4 separate regions of the Homo sapiens genome follow, and regions 1, 2 and 4 are each linked to region 3. The links are contacts of gene promoters, found by promoter capture Hi-C in blood cells and fetal thymus (Javierre and others, 2016). All regions are on one chromosome and are shown on one strand. Each heading gives the region's core, a stretch centred on a gene start or on the middle of the fragment in contact. The rest is flanking DNA. Distances are from core to core; before and after follow the strand shown.

Region 1 (3,158 bases), core at 139-2,638, 670 kb before region 3:
CTGGGTGGCAGGCACCATGCTGGATCCTGCTTTTCCTCCCTCATTTAACCTTGGAGCAGCCAGGCCTGTGAGGGGTAGCTAGTCTCCCCTAGGAAGAGGCTGCACAGATGAGCTTGCTCGGAGCCATGATTGGAGTCCGGCTTGCTGATTCTTCAGCACTCTGCCCGATGCCTGTTGATTTTGGCGGTTTGTTCTTGTCCCTCCAAAGCCAGGAATGCTCTGTGAGAGCTGGGGCCCCACCAGAAGGGTTCCCACGGTGCCCCTGTGCCTGCTGCTGGCTGGGTGGCCTCTTCCCCTGGTCAGCTGGGTGGCACAGAACAGGGGAATCCCAGGGCTGCCCGGGGTGGACCTTCCCTCCCTCCTCCAGGAGCTGCCCATAGAACAGCAGGGAGCCTCTTTCTAGGAGGTGGGATTTACAGGCTGAGATGTTGGAGCCCCACCTCCCTCATTTAGCTGCAGAAGAGGTCTGGGTTGGAGGGAGTCCAGACTCTGGTCCTGGAGTTGAGTCTATTCATGTTATCCATGAGAAAACGGGGGCCCAGAGAGGCCAAGCAACTTGCTCAGGGCCACACAGCTGCTCAGTGGACAAGGGAGACTGGGAGCAGCTCTCCTGTGCCCTCTCTGGTTCCCTGCACTCATGGTCTCCCTGCCTGCCTTCCCTTGTGTTCGGAAGCCAGTTCTACGCTGTGCTTGCTCTGTGCGCCGGTTTGTCTTCTGTTTTGGTTTCTAGCCTGACACAGCTTTTGGATCTCACCCACTTGTGACTCCCTGCAGTCGTCTGTGTTTTGTGGACAATGAAAGGCTTTGCTCCACGTCCACTGATCGGCTGCTCCAGAAGGAAGCTTTGCAGCCTCCTCAGCTGCAGGCCCAGAGTCATGGCTCCCTCCAACCCATTGCCTGGCCCTGCTCAGCCCACTTGGATGGAGCTGAGTCCCCAGCCCGACTGGGTCCTGCTGGGGGCTGAGCTCGTGGGTGCGAGCCGTGTGGGGTAGGGAACCCCGCTGCTGTCTCCCACCTGGCTCTGCACTCCTGCAGCCCCAGTCCTGCCGTGACTGTCACAGGGATCTCCAGGCCTGGTCGGCGGCTCCCTGTTGTGCGAGCATGGTACTCGGAAACCGCCTTTTCTGCTGGTTTAGTCCGACTGAAGCTCCTTGCTGAGGGACTGCATTCCCTCTGCAAACCTATGGCCTTATGGGTCTTTCTGATGCTGCTGTTATCCCCTGCTCTGTCCGCAGTGCTGGTGAATTTCCCAGCCTGGGGCAGTTGGGGACAGGGTCCGAGTCTGACTTCTTTCTCTTTCCTGTGCAGCGGGTGTGGGAATGGGCGTGTGTCTCTTGAATGAGTATGGTGTTGGCTACAGATGGGCCGCTTTAGATCCTGGCTCTACCTCATCTTTCTGGGAGGTGGGGGGTAGTTGTTTACATTCTCTGAACCACCTCCTCTCTGTAGCAGGGGCCCAGTCCTATCACCTGCCCCAAAACATTGGTGTGAGGGCGACGTTAAGTGACTGAATGTGCACAGCGCAGCTGTTTGTGCTTGACGCGTGCTAGGTGGACCCTTAGGCACTGCCCTGGCCCCGTGAAGGCCCTGCAGGTCTGTGTCCCACCCTTGGTGGCTGTGCCCAGCTTTAGCATGCCACCTCATGGTCCTGCTCAGTGGCTCACCTGCTCACCCTGTGTCAGGTCCCAGCCTGGCGCAGGTGGCTGCCCCTGAATCTGGGCCTTGCGAGCCTGTTGCCTGGATGCCCAGGTTCCAGATGCTTCACCTTGGGAAACAAAAGAGCAGTTTTGGCACAGAGATCCCGCAGCCTACAGACTTAATTATGCCCCGTGGACGTGCTGAGCAAGAGTGAGAGGGTGACTGAGCCTGCAGAGGGCTCTGTGTGATGCCATGTGGCCCCCAGTTTCCTCACAGGGGAAAAGGAACAAGCTTCCGGCTCAGGGAATGGCTTCCCAGGAGCAGATGGTACTTTGAAAATCACCTCGTCAGGCTTCGAGCCTGCGTCCTGTGGTTGGGAGGGTGAGGGGCGTGTTGTTTCTGCTGCTGACCCCAGTTTCAGGGCAAATTTAACCTGTGGTCAGTGCAGGGTGGGGCTTTGGTCCCAGGCCCTGGGGCTGAGGCCCTGGAGAACCTGCCAGGCCTGGGCAGTCACTGCTGACGTCTGTGGCCAGAGTCTCCAAGCGCTGAGGGCCCCCTGGGGCCTGATTTATGGGGGTCTTTGGGGGACTTGTTCCAGCCTGGAAATGTGAGAGGGAAATCTCCCCACCCCAGTGGGGGTGCCCCCTGGTGCACAGCTGGGCAGTGGGCACCCCCGTGACTTGTCCGAGAGCACCGTTTCCCTCTGGTGTTACCCTTTAAAACTCACTTGAGGGAAGAGTGATTGGCTACATAGTTGAATTTGCTGAGCAGCGTTTGCAGAGGATGTAAACTGCCAGGTAGGCTGGCCCTGCTTACTGGTCTCTTCTTTGGGCTCACTGAGTGACTGAGTGGCTTTCGCTTTGATCAGAAATGTGAACAGGCCGGGCGCGGTGGCTCACGCCTGTAATCCTAGAACTTTGGGAGGCCGAGGCGGGCGGATCACCTGAGGTCAGGAGTTCGAGACCAGCCTGGCCAACATAGTGAAACCCCGTCTCTACTAAAAATACAAAAATTGGCCAGGCGTGGTGGTGGGCACCTGTAGTCCCAGCTGCTCGAGAGGCTGAGGCAGGAGAATTGCCTGAACCCAGGAGGCGGAGGTTGCAGTGAACCAAAATCACAACACTGCACTCCAGCCTGGGAGACAAAACTCCTTCTCAAAAAAAAAAAAAAAAAAGAAAAAAAAAGAAATGTGAGCAGTTGAAGATTTTAGAACTGATGTGGCTCTCAGAGAGTTGGGAGACATTTTAAGGCAAATGCAAAATGAAAACGTGTCTTTTGCTTAAGGCTGTGTCTTAAGCAGGGGCCTTGGGAAATGAAACGGGATCTTGCCGCTTCGCCTCCTGATTTCTGGAGCTGTTGACTTCTCAGCCTTTTTCTGTGACATGTGCAGCATCTGGACCTGATTTACGGGAGTCTTTGGGGGATTTGTTCCAGCCTGGAAATATGAGAGGGAAATCTCACTGCCCCAGGAGAGGAGTCAGTGCTTAGGGCAGCCTTCCCTGGGCCCCGGGGAGAGGGAG
Region 2 (3,278 bases), core at 648-3,147, 530 kb before region 3:
TTCCAGAAAGGAGAACAAGGCTTTCTGGGTCAGGCAGGCAAGCAAGTGTGTTTCCGTCTCAGCCTTTACCTGGTCCTGGAGATGGTCAGCCCTCAATGACTTACCTTCCCTTTCCCTTCTGCACAGTTTTTAGAGTCCCCAGAAATGGGAAATTAAATCTTATTCTCCCAAGCGTCCCAGGGTAAGGGTGAGGGAGAGAGCAGGAAATAGAGTTGCAAGCCGGTGAGAGCTGATAAGTTGTCCTGTGGATTGGTTCTACTGTCTCTCTCTTGTGTTTCCTGGGCCAAGTTCCCTCCCTTCTTGCTGATGTGCACTTGGCAGTGCACCTGTAAATAGTTTGGATCTTGACTGATGTTTCTGAAGCTTCAAGTCTCACTACTCAAAGTGTAGTTCATGGACCAGAAACAGAATCTCAGACCCCACCCCAGACCTACTGACTCAGAATCTACATTTTAACGAGATCCCCAGATAATTCACAGAAACATTAAAATTGGAGAAGCATTGGCTTAAAGCATTCTGGTTAGAATTTGTGAGGGGAAACAGACACGCTTAGAACTTACTTGCCCAGAAATGTTGCTGCAGTTGAGAATGTTTTAGATGTGTCAGTAGATCCAGCATGGTGCAGATTCCACCGCTCGTGGTGGCATGCCTTCTTTCTCTTGCTCTTGAGATCTCATAGTGCATGTCACCTACCAGAACACAGCGCCCCTCTGCCTTGGGTGACAGGAAAGCTCAACACACCCCAATCCAGCTGCTTCTCCCTGTCGCTGAGTCTTATAGGCCCATCAAGTCCACGTAAACAACCTGTTTTAGATAGCCCGACTCCGTTTGTGGCAAATAGTGCATGCTTCAGCTGCCTGACTTGAGTTTCCTGCCATCTCCTGAGCGGCCCAGCTCCTTATCACTGTCCCTGTCACCTGTCCTCGGTCTTTGTCTCCTGAGCCTGAGGACAGCCTCAGCGCCTCCAGTTTTCATACAGAGCTGCCCCCATCAGACCCTCTCGCCCTCTGACAAAGCACTGTTAGTTACTCTCTAGATAACCGAGGTCCGGTCCTGGCCTGCACCTGCCGCCCTCCTTCCTCCACCTCGGACGTGAACACCTCAGCTCAAAGGTGAGAGCGCACACGGTGTGCTGCCGGAGCCAGACGAGGGGGTTACTGCTCCGCACCAGATGAAGGGAGTCGTCCTGTAAATAGCTGTGCTTTCCAAACCACTTCCACTGTGGCTCCTGAGGCCTTCACGCGTGCTCGGTTTGCCAGGCAGGGTTTATCAACCAGGGATCGCGTAGGAAGCAGAAACCACTCCAGGTGGTGTAAGCAGAAGGAGTTTCTTGTTGGAATTAGGTGCTTACAACATTGTTGGAGGGGCTCAAGGGGCAGGTTTCCGGCTGGGCCTTTTGAAGGACTCCTGGCTAGTTCAGAAGCAGCTGTTGCCAGCCCACAGCCATTCCTGGACTCTCTAGGAGGCTGAAGGATGAACAGTCTAAGTTGAGGTCTGAGGATTATGGAGTTTGGACAGAAATCACCACCACTGCCCTGCTTTTCTGGTACTCAGGAAGCGGCAGCACGACCTGGGTTCAAGGTGACTGGGACCGTCTAACCAGCAGTGACAGCCAGAAGCCACATTCTCACCGGGCACGTCTCATGTGAGCACACTAGTTCCCGAGTCGCAGCACCTGATTCACGTCCCGAGCTCTCGCCGTTTGGGCATCTGGGAAGCTTAGTTTCCCTCGTTCCAACCTCTCAATAGGAGGAGGATCAACGGGAGGTTTGGGAGGAGCCAACTGTGCAACCTCAGCTAGGTACGATTTTGACGAGTGGAACGGGTGGGGCCTGCGGCATTCACACTCCCAAGCTCAGCCTCCACCCAGGAGTGACTGCGCCCAGGCCGACCCCGGTGTCTTCCCACACTTGGCGTTAGCACCTTCTGCAGGTGGCAGCCTCCTTGCACCGGCAGGGAGACCACTGAGCGGCTTCACTCCTCCCTGGTTTTCTAAGCCTGTAAGACTGCTACCTTCCTGCGTGCTCCAAAAGCGATTGCTTTTTCACTTAGTTTCGTCTGATTGACGAAAGCTTGTCACAAGCTTGACAGAGGTTCAGGGAATGTGGGCAAAGCCGCGCTGCCTTCTACATCAAGTGCTGTTCATTTGGGTCATTAGGATTTCATGTCTGGTCCTGGTCTTCGTAATTAAACGTGTAAAGAGATGTCCTCCCAGCACTGTCATGAGCAGGAACTTTTTAGTAGAAATGTACTTGTTGATGACATGGTTGTATAATGTGATTGTGGGTGTAGGGGGACAGATGTGTTTCAAGTGCTAGAGAAATGACAATGATTTGGGTCTCATGGGACCCAGGCACAGGACCGTACACAGAGCAGGTGCTCAAAATGGCTTATTTAGTACATGGAGTGAAATGAAAAGAAGCTCAACGCAGGTGGAAGGTGATGCTCCGTGTCTCCCGGCTCTCCAGGCAGTAGTCATTCCTTGGCCCCTCAGATCCTCCATTTTGGGTGCAATGGTGTGGCTGTACTTTGTGGAGAAACAAATTTGGGCAGCTGAGTTCAGGGCTTCACGTGGAGGAGCGAGAAGGGGGCCACCCAATGCAGCTTTCCCTGGAAGCGTGTGGACTGGGGCACAGTTGTTGCAGGATGATTGGCTGCCACCATAAGTGGGCAAAATCATGGGCAGATCATCCTGCTTCCTTAATTGAATCTTGGAATGCATTCAGAATCTTCAACCCAGGGGTCTGGCACTCAAGGCGTTTGTGACCTGGCACTGACTCAGTACGCTCTAGCCAAATTGGGCACTCATGGCTCCCAGATGCTGTGCCAAGCTTTCACCTGCTTATCTTTGCTTGCACTGTTCCTGCCACCTGGAGGGACTTCTCTTCACCCATCTCTACCTTGAGAAATCCTCTCTGTCATTCATGGCCAACTCAGACACCCCTTCTTCATAGCATTCTTTGCCCGCCGGCCTCAGGAGCACCCTCTGGCACTATCAGAATGCCCAGGGCTCCTTTCCACCCTTTTCTCCTGGCCACAACCCTTTCTCCTGGCCACACCCCTTTCCGCCTCTTTGCCTGGTCCTGTGGGTGCTGTGCAGGCTCCCTCAGCCAAGCTCGGCATTCCCAGGCCTGGCTCCGAGTAGGTGTTTGTGGAATGAATGGCTAAAAAGTAAAGCAAAAAGCTCATGAAACAGAGGGGAAATCCAAAACTGATTAAAGAGAAAAAGGATTCTAACAAAAAAGACCGTGAGTGCTGGGTTCACACTGCCTGGGTTC
Region 3 (3,261 bases), core at 1-2,500:
AATGGCACGATCTCACTTCACTGCAACCTCCGCCTCCCAGGTTCAAGCGATTCTCCTGCCTCAGCCTCCCGAGTAGCTGGGATTACAGGCTCCCGCCACCATGCCTGGCTAATTTTTGTATTTTTAGTAGAGACGCTGTTGGCCAGCCTGATCTGGAACTCCTGACCTCAGGTGATCCACCTGCCTCAGCCTCCCAAAGCGCTGGGATTACACGAATGAGCCACCGCACCCAGCTAAAGATTTTCTTGAAAGCCTGTCTAGATCCTGAAGAACTAATCCCCTTATCTCCCTCCCTCAGTATGATGAAGAGATTTATGAGCATCATTTGAAGACACATTCATATTATGTTTCTTTCAAAGGGGTATGAGCTCCTAGAATAAGAAGAGGCACTGGGCCAAGGAGCATGGCTGGGCTCCAGTTCCCAGGTCTGATTCAGTGTGATCTTTGTCATTTCCTTTTCTATGTCACAGTTTCCTCATCTGTAAACTGAAAGTTGGGCCTGATTTTTTTCATTTTTTCTCTTTTATGCATGTGCCAATTTGTTTCCCACAGAATACTGACATCTTTATAAGCTCTCAAGAAAGACATTATAAAAACAAATTTCAGATATACTTTGAACATAGGCTTCATTATACGACATATACCTCTTTCTGTTTGGATTTTACTGTCCACTTAATATAAAAACCTGTATTAATCACTAAGGAAAAGGATAGAGGAGACTTAGAAATATCTCCAGAATAATTTTGCAACAATTCCAAGATTCTCTGCACTTCTTTTTCTGTCCCTTAATTGGCCTCCTCCACATTTTCCAACTATGGAGGTATTGCTCTACTCTCTTCGACTTTACATTGTTTTAGAATGCTTTTGCAAGGAGACTCTGCCTTGAATGAACCCAAGATATGGTGCAATGTTGAGGAAGATCTCCAAGTTTACACATGCCTGTACGATGGCCCAAAGGTCATCATCAGGTGAAAGGGACGACCTTAGAGATGAAAGAAGTTCAAGGAATGGTGCTACATTAAATGACTTAGCATTAGAAAGCATCTACTTTGCTTTTTCTTTCACCAACCCTGAAAGCCAAATAAGGCACTGGGCATTCAGGCCTTCTTTTGAGCAGAACACGTGATTACGCAGTTATTCTTCAAGAGCCTCTGTTAATCTGTCGCTTGGAGAACTCTGCATACTGTCCCAAATCCGTCTGAATTTTCCATCGGCTGCCAGTGTTCGTAGCAGAGGCCTCGGGTCTTCTCGTCCTCTCCTCAGGGTCTGGCAGCTGTCACTACCGTGGACTTCGGTCCAGTCCCCAGAGTCGGGGGCGCTGCCTTTCCCATTTCAGTTGCCAGGGGGTTCATCCACGATCGTGCCAGAGGGGCAGCGCGTGGTCTCCTCGAACTACGGGGGAGAGAGGAACCACTGTTGGCACGGGCCGGACTGAACGCCGGCTCCCACTGCCTACCTCCTCGGAGCTGCATCCGCCGACATCTTGCGCCCTACTCCCAGCACCAGCAGGGCACTTCCGGGAAGAACGGAATTGCGGTTCCGCGCGTGCGCACTCCGCAGCCACCGCCTCCCGCGAGGAGCGAGAGTCCCGCGGCCCCGCCCCGCCGCCGCAGCCGCCGCCGCAGCCGAAGGCCGGCGTTTCTGACCTCAGCCAGCGGCGACGCAGCCGGGAAAGAACTGTCGAGGGCGTCTCCGTAGTTCAGTTTTGGTTTGTTTATTTGAGACGGAGTCTCTGTCGCCCAGGCTGGAATGCAGTGGCGCGGTCTCTGCTGACTGCAGCCTCCGCCTGCCGAATTCAAGCGATTCTTCTGCGACTGAATAGCTGGGACTACAGGGGCGCGCCACGACGCCCGGCTAATTTTTGTATTTTTAGTGGAGACGGAGTTTCACCATGTTGGTCAGGCTGGTCTCGAACTCCTGACCTCGTGATCCGCCCGCCTCGGCCTCCCAAAGTGCTGGGATTACAGGCGTGAGCCACCACGCCTGGCCCACCCCACTCGGTTTTTAAGGAGATAATTACAAGGTTATTTTACGGTTCATAGTGTGTTTCAGACCTCCCAGAAGCCTAACGGTGTATTATAAACCATTCTTTTCTTTGTTTTTAAATGCATTAAAAACCTTTTTTGAGATAAAAATAGTGCAAGTACATGGTTTAAAAAAAGAAAATCAGATTGCACCAAAAGGTTTATGATGAAAAACAATAATGTTCTGTCCCTTTGCCTCCAAGAGACTCCTTTTTAAAATCTTTTGGGCTGGGCGCGGTGGCTCACGCCTGTAATCCCAACACTTTGGGAGGGTGAGGCGGGCGGATCATCTGAGGTCAGGAGTTTGAGATCAGTCTGGCCAACATGGTGAAACCCCGTCCCTACCAAAAATACAAAAAGTAGCCGGGCGTGGTGGTGGGCGCCTGTAGTCTCAGCTACTTGGGAGGCTGAGGCAGGAGAATCGTTTGAACCGGCGAGGCAGAGGCTGCAGTGAGCTGAGACCGCGCCACTGCACTCCAGCCTAGGCAACAGGAGCAAAATTCTGTCTCAAAAAAAAAAAAAACTTTTATACCTTCTAGTAGTTGTCTCCATTAGGTTTGATTTGGAACATGCTTTCCAGCTACAGGGTTCTTAAGATCATACTTGCTTTTCCTGAGCTGCATCATCTTCAGCTTCCATTATACAGGCTGACGAGGCTCAGTAGCACGGCAGGGCCACTGGCGTATTGAGAAATGGATGGTCACCGTCTTCGCATCCGAGGGTTGTGTGGCGTGCCTCGCGCCAGGAACTCCTTGGCCACTCCGCAGTTTCCTAGCTAGAACCCGGCTTCTGAGCCCAGCACGCTCCAACAGCAGCCTGCCGCGGTCCACGCCTCTGCTCCGGACTTGACCTTTCCCTTCCGGCCTTCCTCCTACAGGTGTCTTGGCACCTGGAATCTCCAGAGGAAATCTGAGGGATTCTCTAAACCCACAGCTGGAACAAGGGACGTCATACACGGCGGCCACCACCATCTTTCCCAAGGACAGCATGGCCATGGATGAAAAGGGCCATTTCATGGGCCTTACCTTCTGCTAGCCAGTATAGCCTAAAGCCCTGATACTCAAATGTAGACTCTTAGGCTCCACCCGGAGGATTCCCTAGGTCTGGGCAGGGCTTGGGAAGCTTAGCAGGCTCCTCAGGTGATTCTGCTACAGATGGTCCAGGACCAGTCTCTGAAAAACACTGTCCTCGGGAAATTGCTTTTATGTATTTACTTTTTCCATCTCTTCTTGGTATT
Region 4 (3,288 bases), core at 411-2,910, 960 kb before region 3:
TTTATAATATAATTGGAAACGACCGGAAGTCCATTAGTAAGAGCTGGTGAAATATTAATTACGGTACGTTTGTATAATGGAACAATATACTAGCCTTTAAAAAAAGAAAGGTAGGCGTTTATGCACGGAGAAAATGTTGCAGTACAGTATCTGTAGTGGGTTAGAAGTGCACGGGGGCTTGGGCGTTGCAAGATACTAAAAATAGAAGGACTCTACTTTCTGAAAATAAGGCTTAAGAAAAGTTACCATTGAAATTGGTAGTCAGAAGCTAAAATGAGGATGTTTGTGAAATCTCAGAATATAGGAACCTAGGGCATTCCTGGATAAAGGATCTTATTTAGGACCATAAAAGGAACTACTGCTTGGTGGTGGTAAATTTTAGGGATTTGTGTTACCTTGAAGGAAATATTGAGTAGGTTCATAGGTTAGAATCGTGGCCTTTTGGGGCTGGAAAGGACCTTAGTTTTTGTCTAGCAACTCCCACGCTCATGGATGCTTGAATCTTACATTCTCTCACACACAATTTTCCAACTTCTTTGGGCTAAGCCACGTTAAATGGAGTGCTGGGGGAGTGTGATGTGTAGGTCATGGAATTAAGAAGACAGAATTTCACCAGAACATAACTGAAGCAGGAGAACCAAGTTAGTTAAAAGATAAATAACATCCAGGCGTGGTGGCTCACGCCTGTAATCTCAGCACTTGGAGAGGCCAAGGTGGGAGGATTGCTTGATCCCAGGAGTTTGAGACCAGCCTGGGCAACATAATGAGACCTCATCTCTTAAAAAAAAAAAAAAAAAAAAAAAGGAAAGAAAAGAAAAGGAATTAAAAGATAAGTAACGTAACTACAGAAGGCTCAAATGTAGCTTCAGGGTTTTCAGCAGCAGGAATGTGGTCCTTACTGGCATTTATGTTATTTAGCTGTTCTCCAGTGTGAGTTTCTTTTGGTCCATTTACCAAGTGAGTTACTCTTTATCTCTGCTTCTTTAGTTTCTGTTTATTCTTAACTTGGATCTGCTGTAATTTCCCGTGGGCCCAATCTATGGATTGGCCTCTTTCTTTCTGTAATTGGTTGGGATTTACATTCAGGTCTTTCTGCCTCAAAAGCCACTATACTAGACTGACTCAACTGCATAGGGCTGCCTCTTCTGTAGTATCTGTGGCAGGGTAGATTCACTTAAAAGGGACTGACCTGTCGAGTTAGAGTTACAGTCCTGTCTTTAAAGAGAACTATCAAACCCTAATTCATTGAAGTTCATGATGTTTGGTTCCAAGTGGTAAAAAGGATGGGTTTTTTAATGATCCTTGTTATGTGACTGTAAAGCAAATAAACTAATTCTACTAGTAATACAATATAGTCTTAGTCTGTTTTCTGTTGGTCATAACAGAATGTCTGAAATGATAATTTATAAGAAACTGAATTTATTTCTTACGGTTCTGGAGGCTTGGAAGTCCAGGGTCTTAAGGGTGCATCTGGTGAGAGCGTTTTTGCTGGTGGGGACTCTGTGGAGTTCCAAGGTGGTGCAGGGCATCACATGGCAAGGAAGCTGAGCGTGCCAGCTCAGGTCTCTCTTCCTCTTCTTATAAAGCCACCAGAACCACTCACTTGATAACCCATTAATCCGTGAATAGATTAATCCATTCATCAGAGCAGAGCCCTCATGACCCAGTCACCTTTTAAAAGCTGTGCCTCTCCACACTGCCACATTGGAGATCAAGTTTCAACGTGAGTTTCAGAGAGGACAAACGTTCAAACCATACCAAATATACATTATTATTTGTCACAAGTCATGCAAACTTTATGAGATCCTCTTTGAACAGAAACAATAAATATACAGTTGGCCCCCTCCACAAATTCAGCCAATACCAAATAGCCCTTTACACTTGGGAGCCATTTTACACACCAGATTCACCAACAAAAATGCAGGAAAGGACCCTAAATAGGCCACGAAAAGGACACTTGTTTACAGTACAAGAGCTGAAACAAGAAAGCAGAGCGTCGCCTTGTTTGACCCCATCTGGGAACATGCTACCTCGGCTGTGAACGGTGCACTGGGCAACTCAGAATCTGCCCTGCTCTGTGGCTGTCTGTGAGCAACTGCTAACGGACCTCAAATGCTAGTTTTGGGATTACACATTTTAGCAAGTAGGTAAACTTGCAAAGAAAGAATCAGAGAATAATGAGAATGAACCCTACCTTTTATAGGTGTCTTCGTTGTGTAAAATGCGATGATAGTTTGACTCCTACCCATCCCCCAGTTGTGAGAGGATGTTATTTTACGTAAATATTACCAAGGAATTTTTAAAAATAGAATTCAAACATACTTCAGATATATGTCTGTAATTCATATATGGATGTACTACTATCATTAGATAATTCTCAAAACTCAATGTCCACTTAAAGTGAGGTTTATATAAAGCCATATTCAGATAGTCTAGCATTTCTATTTTTTTATCCAATTGTCAGGACCGATCAAACCATCATTGAGGGGGGTTTTATTTTTTTAGATGACTCAGTGCTGTTATTTTCTTATTGTTTATACTTTGCATTAGTGCTTACGTCTTTTTTTGTTTATTTTTGAGACAAGATCTCATTCTGCCACCTGGGCTGGAGTACGGTGGCACGATCACAGCGCACTGCAGCCTCCATCTCCTGCTCTCAAATGATTGTCCCACCTCAGGCCACCACACCCAGCTAATTTTTGTATTTTTTGTAGAGATGGGGTTTTAGTATATTGCTCAGGCTGGTCTCAAACTCCTGGGCTCAAGTGATCTGCCTGCCTCCCAGAGTGCTGGGATTACAGGTGAGAGCCACCATGCCCCACCAGTACTTATGTCTTTAATGAGTGGTTTCTACAGGTACCATTTGTCAGATACCAATTTTTGAGGGTTAAATTAAAACTGGATAGAATCCATAAATCCACATAACTAAGTATAGATAAATCTCAGTACATTGCACCACAGCATTCAGCTGTTTTAAACACCACTGTCATCTTCGATCATTGTGGACTTCCCATTCTTTCAGGATACCTTGAATATAGGGCACAACTTATGAAGGTCTAATTTAGCAGGCCTAGTGAGTACATATGTGTATCTTAATGAAAAGAAGACACTGTTGATTCTAAGATGTACTATCCAGGAAGAAAAAATACTGCCAGCTATGATTATAAGATGCCATCCTTTTAAGACATGTTCTTTTTCAGAGATGTGAAAATGTAAAAAATGTGTTTTGGGAATTATTGAAAATATGACAGTAAATATTGCTAAAGCCTATCATTTGAGAAGGATTAT

The links. The method cuts DNA at HindIII sites, captures the fragments that hold promoters and counts their contacts. A CHiCAGO score of 5 or more calls a contact.
Region 1: a fragment that was not itself captured here is called in contact with the fragment with the promoter of TMEM44-AS1 in region 3 in 2 of 17 cell types (neutrophils and total CD8 T cells); the score reaches 9.1 in neutrophils.
Region 2: a contact is called between a fragment that was not itself captured here and the fragment with the promoter of TMEM44-AS1 in region 3, in 1 of 17 cell types (neutrophils). The highest score is 5.1, in neutrophils.
Region 4: a fragment that was not itself captured here is called in contact with the fragment with the promoter of TMEM44-AS1 in region 3 in 1 of 17 cell types (neutrophils); the score reaches 10.2 in neutrophils.

What each region holds. Positions count from the first base shown.
Region 1 is chr3:195,253,158-195,256,315 of GRCh38, reverse strand. All of the region lies in intron 1 of XXYLT1 (xyloside xylosyltransferase 1), which reads left to right. Among named protein-coding and RNA genes, the nearest start is that of XXYLT1, 16 kb to the left of the region's middle. RefSeq lists a silencer at 43-217 and an enhancer at 1,975-2,762. The HindIII fragment of the contact is 1,087 bases long and covers 845-1,931 here.
Region 2 is chr3:195,113,545-195,116,822 of GRCh38, reverse strand. All of the region lies in intron 3 of XXYLT1 (xyloside xylosyltransferase 1), which reads left to right. Among named protein-coding and RNA genes, the nearest start is that of MIR3137, 19 kb to the left of the region's middle. The HindIII fragment of the contact is 354 bases long and covers 1,721-2,074 here.
Region 3 is chr3:194,582,257-194,585,517 of GRCh38, reverse strand. It overlaps TMEM44-AS1 (TMEM44 antisense RNA 1), which reads right to left and starts at 1,250. Exons shown (of 3, transcript NR_047575.1): 1 at 1,070-1,250. RefSeq lists enhancers at 1,234-1,283, 1,319-1,984 and a silencer at 1,474-1,733. The HindIII fragment of the contact is 5,912 bases long and covers 1-3,148 here.
Region 4 is chr3:195,538,971-195,542,258 of GRCh38, reverse strand. All of the region lies in intron 1 of PPP1R2 (protein phosphatase 1 regulatory inhibitor subunit 2), which reads left to right. Among named protein-coding and RNA genes, the nearest start is that of PPP1R2, 2.7 kb to the left of the region's middle. RefSeq lists an enhancer at 1,856-1,965. The HindIII fragment of the contact is 4,001 bases long and covers 1-3,288 here.